Linked DNA regions of Homo sapiens: region 1 is linked to region 2. Evidence: promoter capture Hi-C in human tissues and cell types (Jung and others, 2019). All regions are on one chromosome and are shown on one strand. The core of a region is centred on a gene start or on the middle of the fragment in contact, and the rest is flanking DNA. Distances in the headings are between cores, read along the strand shown.

Region 1 (5,957 bases), core at 668-3,167, 260 kb before region 2:
ATGTGTTATGGTACATGGTATGATATAGATATTTAACATCCTCCTCCCCAAATTTATAACTGTAATTTATATTAATTTGTTCTGAGACAATTAATTTGGCCACTGACAGCAAGTTATAATAATAAACCCAGGTCTCCTATTTTAAACCCATAGCTGAATATGAAAGCATAATTGAAGGAAGAATTTATTTTCAGCCTTCTCCACTCCTCCTAAAGAGTCATCAATAGATAAATTCCTCCCCTAAGTGCCTTTGAAAGGCACAATGTTATTGGAGTTAAAAGTGAAATGTATACTTTAAATAATGATATTCAAAATAAATCAGTTTCAGCATGGCAGTAGCTAAATGACCTTGAAGAGGATTCTCAAATAGCTTTTTATGTAGCGATTTATTTTTCATATTAATAAATCTAAATTACTAAGGAAACCTCTGATTTTCAGTAAGATGTTTTAACTGACAACATTTCAGAGGTACTAGCTTATGCACAAACACAGAAAATAACTTTTCAACATAAACTGAAAACAATATTCTAGTATTCCTTCTCTTACCTTTCCAGAAACCAAGAAAAATAAACATAATGCATTCATTGTCACTGAATTCAGGCTCCCACAAACCAAAAAAGTAGACTAAACTCCAGGCCCTCAGGGAACCTGGTAAAAAACTGAGGCTGGAGAAGTAACTCTAGCTCACCCCCAAGTTGTAATAAAAAGCTGATTCATGAAGCCTCTCCCTTAAAAACACGTGTTCTGTCAGAGTTACCTAGATTTCATGCTCCCTAGCTGCTAATAATGAACACATCAATAACTATCATGATATAATTACAAAAGAAAAATGAAAATATTCCCAAGCAGTTGGGAAAATATGAAAATATTCCCGTCACTTGCAGCAGCACTGTTAGCTTTTTCTGAATGCCAATACTCTAATTTTGTTAAAAGGATAAAGTAACAAGATATTCTCCCTTACTGGTTTACTTATTTCCTCCATTTCCTCTTTTTGTGGCCCAAAATACCAAAATTCCACCATATCTTTATGTGAAAGATTTCTTAAAGTTCGCTTCCTTTTTCTTTTTTTTTTGAGATGGAGTCTCACTCTGTCTCCCAGGCTGGAATGCAGTGGCGCAACCTCAGCGCCCCGGGTTCAAGCGATTCTCCTGTCTCAGCCTCCCAAGTTACTGGGACTACAGGCATGTGCCACCATGCCCAGCCAATTTTTTTGTATTTTTAGTACAGACGGGGTTTCATCATGTTGGCCAGGCTGGTCTCGAACTCCTGACCTCAAGCAATCCACCCACCTTGGCCTCCCAAAGTGCTGGGATTACAGGCGTGAGCCACCATGCCCGGCCTCTTAAAGTTAGCTATCTTTTATAACCGGACTTAAAAACTGGACTTACTACAGTTATCTTTATCCTTAAGAAGAGTGGTTTACTGATTCCTAAAAAAACTTTCTTTACAGGTTGTTAAAATTATAATCTCCAACAATTAAATGATTGTGACTTTAAGTACTGTTGGCACAAAAACACTGTGAACAACTGTGTGATAGGGAGGCTCAAAAGGCAATCAGGACTTTCATTTCCAGCACTGGGAGGGCTAGGTACCATTACTGGCCCCTCTCAGAAAAAAAAAACTAAAAATGTTAAATAAAATAGGGAGGGGATCATCTTTTAAATGCTCAATGAGCTGATGAGAATAAGGACATTGAGGCCAAAATTAATGAGTACAGTACCTCAAAGAAGTTTAAGTTAGGGACAGTCGCTAAACTTGATGAGCTTGAGTTTCAATCTTCATGGCCTCATGGGGTTGAGGAGAATGGGAAGGAAAAAAGAGGCAAAGCCCACAGCCCATCAGAATTGAAGAGTCTAAGATGCCTCCTCCATAAAGCTGAAACCTCACCACACACACCCAATGTAAGGCTGAATTAGAAATACGTCTGTACCCCCAGGAGAATGCAAAGAAAATTATCTGTCTTGAACCCTAGTAATGACTGGGAGAGAACAGAAGATACTCTCTTAAGATTTCATAACCCCCAATCAACCATAATTCACACTAAGTGGGCTGAGAATTTATTTTCATAGGGTCTTAGATTTGTAATGTCCCCAGATGCCCAGTAAAAAGAAAAAGCAAATAACCTCTAGGGAATTCACTTTCTTCCCGGGACTCCAAATGTTCTCACAGTTAAAGTTCCAAGAAATATGAATTCACATAAATCATAAAACATCAAAAGAAACAAGGCAACAAAAGTGAACACTAGTAGAAACAACAGACAGCAAAATCAGACCCTCAAAGACTTCATTTGAAGAAACAAAGGGATTTGAAAATACGACTAAAAAGCAGTACAGTAAAAATAACCACGAAACTTGAGAATCAGGAGAGGAGAATTGGACAGAAACAAGATTTTAAAAGTACACAATAAATAGCAGAATAACCACTAACTTTTTTTTTTTTTTTGAGATGGAGTCTTGCTCTGTCGCCCAGGCTGGAGTGCAGTGGCATGATCTTGGCTCACTGCAAGCTCCGCCTCCCAGGTTCACGCCATTCTCCTGCCTCAGCCTCCCGAGTAGCTAGGACTACAGGTGCCCGCCACCACGCCCCGCTAATTTACACAAAGGTATCTTTAATTACTAAGGGAAAACCACTAACATTATAGAATTTAATACCCCAAATAAATAGTAATTAAAAATGAGGGCAAAATAAAGATATTTTCCAGTAGGTAGGGAAGGACAGAGTTTGCCACCAGTAGGCCTTCATTAAGAAAATCCTAAAAGAGCTTTCGATAGAAGGAAGCTAATCCCAGATGATAAATCTGTACAGAAAGTATATCAGGGCTAGAGGGGAGATACAAATAAAATAATGGAAAAAAATCCAAAATATTAGTCATATAATAAATGTACATGGACCAAATATTCCAGTTAAAAAACAAAGCATGTCTGACTGGGTTCTTTAAAATCCAACTGATCAGTATTTATAAAAGATATATATAAAACATGGATTCAGAAAGGCTGAAAATAAAAGGATGATATAAAGATATAATAAGGAATAGACCAGGTGTGGTGGCTCACGTCTGTAATCCCAACACTTGGGGAGGCTGAAGCAGATAGATCGCTTGAGCCCAGGAGTTTGAGACCAGCCTGGGCAACGTGGAAACCCTGTCCCTACAAAAAAAAAAAAAAAAAAAAAAAAAAAAGGAAAGAAGAAAGAAAGAGAGGAAGAAAGGAAGGAAGGAAGGAAGGAAGGAAGGAAGGAAAAAAGAAAAGAAAGAAATTAGCTAGGTGTGGTGGCACATGCCTGTGGTCCCAGCTACCCAGGAGGCTGAGTGGGAGAATCACCTAAGCCTGGGAGGTCGAGGATACAGTAAGCTGTGATCTCACCACTGCATTCCAGCTAGGGTGACAAAGTGAACCCTGTCTCCAAAAAAAAAAAAGATATAAAGATGTAATAGGCAATGACTAACAAAAAGAGAGCTCATGTATTTATATCAACATTAAAGAAAATAGCTTTCTAAAGCAAAATACATTATTAAAGGTTAATAAGATTACTGCGTAATACAAAGAGAAACAGACAACACTACAATCAGTAAAATTTTAGTACACAACTCTTTTTACTGACAGAGCAAGCAGACAAAATAATAGTTAAGAATATAAGATTTGAATGACAGAATTAATAAGCTTGTTAGAACAGACACATATAGAACACTCTACTAACAACTGCTTAAGATATCGTTTCCAAACGTAAAAAACACAGACCACAAAATGAATCATAACTAAACTCTCAACAAATTTTAAAGGGTTGGCATCACACAAACCATGTTCTCTTGCCCTCAATGTAATTAAGTCAGAAATCATTAGGAAAAATAAGGAAAAAAAATTACTCATATTTGGAAATAAAGAAACACTTTTAAATAACACATGGTCAGAAATCATAAAAATAATTAAAATTGAAAAATAATAAAATAACCTCATAACAAAACTTTGGGAATAACACTGAATCAATACATAGTGAAAATTTATACTTTAATTGCTCATATTAGAAAAAGAATGACTAAAAATTAATGAACTAAGCACCCAAATTAAGTTAGATAAGAACAATAAAATAACTAAGAGAGGAGACAAATATATACACGTGTACAGCACAAGCAAGAATAGCAACTAAGCCCAGAGTGGCTTCTTCAAAAAGATCAGAGGTTGGCAAGCTTTTTCTGTAAAAGGCCAGAGAGTAAATATTTTAGGCTTTACGGGCCAAACAGCCTGTGTCACAACTACTTAACTCACCATTGTAGCTCAAAATCAGCCACAAACAGTACATAAATAAATAGGCCCAGCTGTGTGCCAATAAAAATTTATTTATAAAAACAGGAGGTGAGTGAGACTGGGCACACAGACCCTAGTTTGCAGATCTCTAAAAAAGAATAAAATTGGCAAACCTTTGGCAAGGTTGGTCAGGAGCTAAGGAGAGATAAGTGTACAATCAATATTAGGTCAATATTAGGTCTTAAAAAACTATAAATAACTTTACGCCACTAAGTTTGAAAACTCAGATGAAATGGATATTCTTAGAAAAATGTAACTTACCAAAATTGACTCAAGAAATAGACTACCATAATTCATTTTTAAAAATCATCAGAAGGAAAAGTCCAGCATTTCAAGTGTTAGATGCTGAAATCTATGAATTCTGAGATTGAGAGTTCAGAATAAAACAAGCTAACTTAATAATGTGACCACGTTTATGCGGTTCTCAGATTCAGCATTCCTCCTCTCTCAAAGGTGAAATTGCTGGCCTCCTCTGAAACACTCAGCCTTGACTTCTCAGCACTATAATGGAAACTGACCTAAGCTTGGCATCACTGTTTATTCTATAGGCCTGGGTCCTTATCTTGGTAACCTGCTCAGCACCCCAATTCCTGCAGAGTTTCTTCTGCTCAGCTTACAGTTACCCGCTGACTACATTCTCCTCTTCTCCTTCCTATCTTTCTAGAGCTCTTTGACTGGAAGCTGCTATCTGCTGACAAATATTCTGTAATGCCAAATTATCTACCTGCTTACATTTCTGAGTATTACAAGTTTCTACATTCTCTATTGCCTTGCTGTTCCCAAGTTTTAGTTGCTCTCTCCTCATCCATTCACTGATTTAACATTAGGGGTACACTGCTTGCCTAGTTTACCACCTACTATCTATTAACACCCCTTATGATAGATGCAACATTGCCTGCTGGCTTTTTTCTGATATCGCCTCTGGGTTTGTCCCTTGGCACCTGCCGAACACCAGCAAGGTGTGTGGTTCTAAGCTTCAGCCCTCACTCTCTTCACAATCTGACACCTATAAAACAGACTGTACTTAGCCAGGCTGTAGGACTATTGCTGATTCTTTAGCTTAAAAAAAAAAAAAAGAGGGGCTTAACAATAAGTCATTCCATAATTCTTTACGGTGTACATTTGGAAACAAATTATGTTATTATAAATATATAAACAAATATTTTCTTCTTCTTACAAGAAAAATAATCTTATGTACTTGAACAGTTGAAAAAAACTTACAGGTATAGATAGCTTCCTGAATTTCATCCACCAGTGACCTACATACAGCTCTATGTCTTGAAAGATTAAGAGAACAGTATCCACACAATTTATATGAAGAAAATCCTCAGAACAGTGAGATTAAGCCAACAATGAATTAAGAGTAAGTCATGTATTCCTTATGTGGAAATTGAGTACAAACTAGCAACATTCTTTAATCTCAGGAACTTAGAACTAAAAAAACTTCTGCTAATTTTAAATAATCAGGAGAAAAAATACAAAATTCTCATAATACCTAAAAGATATACCTAATAGTACCTTCTTTCAATTCCCCCAGGATTCTGTAATTTCTTCCAAGATCTTGGATAGTTACTAGTTTTAAGAAAGCTTCCTGATTCACAAACATTTATCCTAAACTATATTATTGGACCAGATTCACATACTGGAGTACAAGTA
Region 2 (5,860 bases), core at 2,201-4,700:
GTAGAATATGCTACAGTTACTATTAGAAAAAGTAAAAGCCAGTCACCTGAGACTCTTTACCCTTTGCCCCCCAATTCTCAGTATGCCACCTTTCACTTTGATCTCCTGAGTCTCATTTCACTTCCCTAACATTAGAGTTTAGGCACATTCAATTTTATCTTACTTTGGATTGTTATAAAATCAATTAATTCTAGTCTTCTTTTGTTTTCCTTTTTAGTTTATATAATAAGAGAACACATGCTTGTTCCAAAAACAAAATTTTAAGCCCAAACATAACTTTATAAGGTAAAAAGCAAAAACATCCTCTTTTCTCCATCTTGTCTCACTTCCTGAAGATAGCCACTGTCGGCTGGGCGCAGTGGCTCATGCCTGTAATCCCAGCACTTTGGGAGGCCTAGGCAGGGGAATCATGAGGTCAGGAGATGGAGACCATCCTGGCCAACATGATGAAACCCCGTCTCTACTAAAAAAATAAAAATTAGCTGAGCCTGGTGGCATGTGCCTGTAATCCCAGCTACTCGGGAGGCTGAGGCAGGAGAATAGTTTGAACCCAGGAGGCAGAGGTTGCAGTAGGCCGAGATCGAGCCACTGCACTCCAGCCTGGTGACAGAGCGAGACTCTGTCTGAAAAAAAAAAAAAAAAACTACTGTCAACAGTTTGGGGACAAAAAGGCGTATGTGTGCCTGTATGCAGGTTTAAACAAATGTATATAAATTTCTTCTGAAGCTAGTTTTTTTTTTTCTTTTTTTTGAGATAGAGTCTCGCTCTGTTGCCCAGGCTGGAGTGCAGTGGCGCGATCTCGGCTCACTGCAACCTCCACCTCCCGGATTCAAGCAATTCTCTACCTCAGCCCCCTGAGTAGCTGGGATTCCAGGCGCCCGCCACCACGCTCAGCTAATTTTTGTATTTTTATTACAGGTGGGATTTCACCATCTTGGCCAGGCTGGTCTTGAACTCCTGACTTCGTGATCCACCTGCCTCGGCCTCCCAAAGTGCTGGGATTACAGGCATGAGCCACCTTGCCCAGCCATTTTTTTCATTTAATATACAGCATCTTGATTTTTCAGCCAATGTGCAAAATAGCTAGCAGACACACATTTTTTGCATTTCTTCCTTTCCCTATAATGAGATTGCCAAATTAAGATTTGCTGTCAAAGGAAGTAAAACAAAGAAACCTGTCAGCTTCATACTGCCTTCAATCTACAACTGGTGAGGACAAAAGGGTAAACATACACACATTAATATACATACGTAATAAATATATAAATTATCCTACATGGCTAAATGTTAACATAAGTAATACATGTACATTGAAATCAAGTTAATTTTCAAAGGCACGAAGCTAAGGAAGACATCTGCGTAGGTGGAGAGACTTAATAGGTTCTGATTAGGGAGGGACACCATGTGGAAATTTCCTGGGCTTTGGAGCCAGAAACATGAGGTCAAATTTAACTCTACCTCTTACTGATTATGTGGTTTGTGTAAGTTGCTTAACCCTTCTGAGCTTCCTTTTTGTCATGCACAGAACTAGGGGAAAGATTTATCTTACAGAGATTGAGATACTAAATGTTTACAATGGTGTCTTGAACATAATAAGTACCCAAAAAAATGCCTTAATACTGTTAATAGTCCAGACACTATATATGATGGAATTGGTGATCCAATACTCACACCACCAAATACCTGTGAACTCTGCTTTTTGTCTTTGTGTTTTATTTGCCTTCACGCTTTTATATTTATTTGTATAGAGATGGAAAGTGCCTTAGAAATAAACTGCTGTAAACATGAAGGACACACAACTACTTAGTAGCTTTAATGCATTATTGAAGTGATGTTCTCTCCTCCTGTTTCCCCAGAGCATCCTGCACTGGGCTCATTAACAATGTCCCATCCTTCCCCTAAGCAATCCTAAATTTTACTTACACCTCGTGATAAATACAAGCCATCTGACTATCACTAAACAGCTGACCATATCCTGCACCTCTGCTAGCAGCTTGACGTGTCAAAAGCCAAGCTTCCCAAAGAGGAGGATCCTATCCTTTTACTTAACAAGGCTAAAACAGATGCATACACTTTTAGCTGGCTAGTGCCCACATCTTGGGGAAAGGACCTACCAAGTACACATCTCCTTTTATTACATATTTTAGTCAACTGTATGTCCACCCACCCTTCACATTCATCTATACTTAAGAGGTTAGATTTCTAGAAAATCATGGACTTCTAGAAGGATTAGGGGAAATTTTGGCCACTATAATATCCAACCATCCTCTTTTCCATGTGAGAAAACTGGGGCTCAGGAAGATGTGACATGCCCAAGCACACACATCTATTTAAATACCAGTTGGGATTAGAACCCCAACTCTTTAAGTCTTTTGCACACTAATAAGCAAGGTATTATATGTTCCAGTAGTTCTGTGAGGTGCTTATTCAATCTTTTTGGGATGAAAAGAAACGTCCGTGGTTGCGAATGCATAAAGGTAATTAACCCACCTGTCTGTCCATGTGGGGATGGGATTAACGAGGGGGAAAGTTGCGTTTGTATTTTTCCACCATCTTACCTAAATTTGCAGGAAAATTGCTCTATGGGCAATAAATATGACCCAGAAAGACTAGCAACCCCCAGTAGTATCTCAAAAGGGCTCCAGAGACATGTTAGACCAAGTGGAAGTAAAGCACGAGGTGGGGGATGTCTGCTAGGATGGTGGCTGGCAGAGCAGAGGTATTTTTTTTTCCGTATTTATTAACCTGGGAGGGCAGACGTTGTCAATTTCCTCCTCCTGCCACACAAGTGGCCGCGTCCTTGTCACTGGGGCTGTGTGGAGGTTCTCACCTCCTCCTTTTTCCCAGGGATGTTTATGGCGAGGGCGCGGGTCGGCCCGGGCGGAGGAGGACCCGGGCATCGGCGCTCACCCTCCGTCCCCACCCGCGGCAGCAGCTGTGGGCGCCCGGCGAGGGCTCCCTGGGCAGCGCCTTTGTTTTCCCGACTCCAGTTACGTTTGCGGAAGTGCTGCCAGCACGGGGCGCGCTGGGGGCGCAGGCGGCAGCCTCCCCCAGCACCCCACAAAGATGACACCCGACACGGAAGCCGGGGGAGGGAGGGAGGGAGGGAGCGGCGGGCGAGCGAGGCCCGAGCGGAGACAGCGGCGCACGCTGGGCTCCGAGCCCCGGCCCCGAAGCCCCTTTCCCGGCAGCAGGTGTGCGCGGCTGAGGTGCCTACCCGCCCTCCGGCTGGGCCCGTGCGGGGCGGGGGAGGCCAGGGCGGGTCTGCGAGCCCCTTCTCCGCAAGCCGGGCCCGACTCACCTGCTGCGGCGGCGGCAGCGCTCAGCTGCGCGGGGCGCGGGGAGCCCTGTCCCCGGAGCACGGGGCGGCGGCTCGGGGCGCCGGGGCGGCGGCTGTCGGGGCAGCGCGCACCATCCCGGGCTGCTCGCGCGCTCCTCCGGGGCTGCGACGGGCTGGGCGGGGCGCGGCGAGGCGAGGCGAGGGATGCGGACCGGGTGGGGCCACGGAGGACGGAGGCGGAGGGCCCAGCGCTCCCGCCGGCGCGACCTTCTCTCCCGCTGCGGCTCCTCCTCCTCCCCGGCCCCGGCCTCACAGTCGCCGCCGCCGGTCACTACCGGCTGGACCCGTTTCAGGGCCGGGCGCTGAGGACCGGCCGCCAGGTGCAGCGCTCCGCCTCCTGCGGCGGCGGCGGATGCGTCGACTGCCCGCTCCCGGCCTCCAGCCCGCCCCGGCGGCCCGGAGGGACACCTGAACCCAGCCGGGCCCGGGGAGCACGCTGAGGAGGCGAAAGCACTGGGCGAGGCTCCATCCCTACCGCACCCTCCACCCCCCCGCACCCCCAAGCGACTTCCGCTGAGCCCCCAGGCAATGAGTGCGGGCCAGGAAATGTGGGGGAAAATGTACTAACATCCCTTATTCCTTGAGCGCCTTTTAAGTGGCACACACAATGCTAATGCTGTCAGTGCGTTATCTCCGCGTCTGTCCCAGGTTGACCCGGGAGGGAGGAGCCGGCGGGGTGCGGGAGACAAACGATCTGTGAGTTTCGGGGCTCACCAAGAAGGGGGAACACTGAGACGAAGGCACCCTTTTTCAGGAAGCTGCTACTGGCATCTTGCTGAAAAGCCAACCGTGTGTGTCGCACTAAGAATATAATTAAAGTTGTATTTCTAGTTAAACACGCAGAGAGTTGGGGGAGAGTGGAGTATTCACTTGGCAAGTATGTCTGTGTGCCTGTGATGGGCTTTGGGGGATGCCACATCCTGTTCTTAAGGAGTTTATTGTCTTGTTCTGGCAACAACGACAAGAGTGACAATGGTAGCTAACGGCAACAACGACAAGAGTGACAATGGTAGCTAACGCTTATAAACATCGATTATGTACGGGGCACTGTGTAGGTACTCTTTGAGCCTTATAACCCTATAGGTGTAGGAAACGTTATTCCCATTTTACAACTGAGGAAAGCCGAGGCTGAAAGTTAATGTGACCCATCCAAAGTTACTAAACAGCGAAAGGGAAAGCAGGCTTCTTTTGTCTCCAGGCTTTAAGCTCTTAACCGTGAAATCATACTGGTAAGAATTTGATAGGCCCTGAAGTTTCTGAATTTTGAGTCCCTCTTTAGGAAGAATAAAACAATTACAAATACGAAGTTTCTAGGGCCCCTTCCTGAGCTTATGAAGGGTCTCTGAAGCTTAAACTATAGTAGCCTCATGCTAAATCCACTTTCAATATTGACGTAGATATTCAATCATTTCTTTCTCCAGGCATTTCTTTCTCCTGTCAGGAACACGAGACACTGGTCCCCTCCTTGAAACTCTTCCCTTCTCTTCTTTTGGTGCTCCGTAAGTGTTGGATTTTCCTCCTTGAAACTCTCCCCTCCTCTGCCTTCTGTGACCCACAAGTCTTGGGTTTTCCTCTTCCTCTCTGGCCACTCCCCTTTGCTCCACTTGAGTTTTAGTTTTCCTTGGGTTTTGTTCTAGGCTTTCCTTTCTTCTGATTCTGTTTGTTTCTGCGAATTCTCTCACTCCTTGGCTTCAATCACAGAATATTTGAGGGTGCTCCAAAAGCCCTCTCTCGGGGTCAGCTTTTCTCCTGAGGGCCAGATCCTTATGGCCAGTTGTCCAGTGGGATGTGTCACAGGCACCCCAACCTCACTAAGTGCCACGTCAATGTTTCTTTACCTTCTGTTCTTCCCCTACTCGTTTTTTTTTTTTAAGATGGAGTCTCACTCTGTCGCCCAGGCCGGATTGCAGTGGCGTGATCTCAGCTCACTGCAACCTCTGCCTCCCGGGTTCAAGTGATTCTCCTACCTCAGCCTCCTGAATAGCTGGGATTACAGGCATGTGCCACCATGTCTGGCTAATTTTTGTATTTTTAGTAGAGATGGGGTCTCACCGTGTTGGCCAAGCTGGTCTCAAACTCCTGACCTCAAATGATCCCCCCACTTCAGCCTCCCAAAGTACTGGGATTACAGGTGTGAGCCACTGCACCCGGCCCCTCATTCACTCTTGCTTCTGGGTTCCCAGACTCTGGGGTCCCAAACAGCCATCCACCCAGTTGTACAAGGCCCTTCTTCTCAATGCTCCTTTCACCCTTATACCCATGCCCAGTGTATTAGTTACCTATTGCTGCTGTAACAAGTTATCGTAAACTTTGTGGATTAAAACACACATTTATTATCTTACGATTCTGGAGGTCAAGAGTCCAAAATGGGTTTTAGTGAACTAAAACCAAGGTGACTACAAGGCTGTATTCTTTCTGTAGGCTGTAGAGAATAACCCATTTCTTTTACCTTTTCCACTTCTAGGGGCTGCTCACATACTTTGGCTCATGGACCCTTCCTCCATCTTCAAAGCACACCAC

The links. Contacts are between HindIII fragments. The study calls those that stand out against the background at their distance.
Region 1: a contact is called between a fragment that was not itself captured here and the fragment with the promoter of MFSD6 in region 2, in 3 of the 25 tissues and cell types used here (hippocampus, lymphoblastoid cells and pancreas).

The regions. Positions count from the first base shown.
Region 1 is chr2:190,661,808-190,667,764 of GRCh38, reverse strand. All of the region lies in intron 4 of NAB1 (NGFI-A binding protein 1), which reads right to left. Among named protein-coding and RNA genes, the nearest start is that of NAB1, 16 kb to the right of the region's middle. The HindIII fragment of the contact is 9,138 bases long and covers 1-5,957 here.
Region 2 is chr2:190,405,945-190,411,804 of GRCh38, reverse strand. MFSD6 (major facilitator superfamily domain containing 6) reads right to left here and starts at 3,450. Exons shown (of 8, transcript NM_017694.4): 1 at 3,302-3,450. RefSeq lists a silencer at 2,830-3,869 and an enhancer at 4,130-4,179. The HindIII fragment of the contact is 11,189 bases long and covers 1-5,860 here.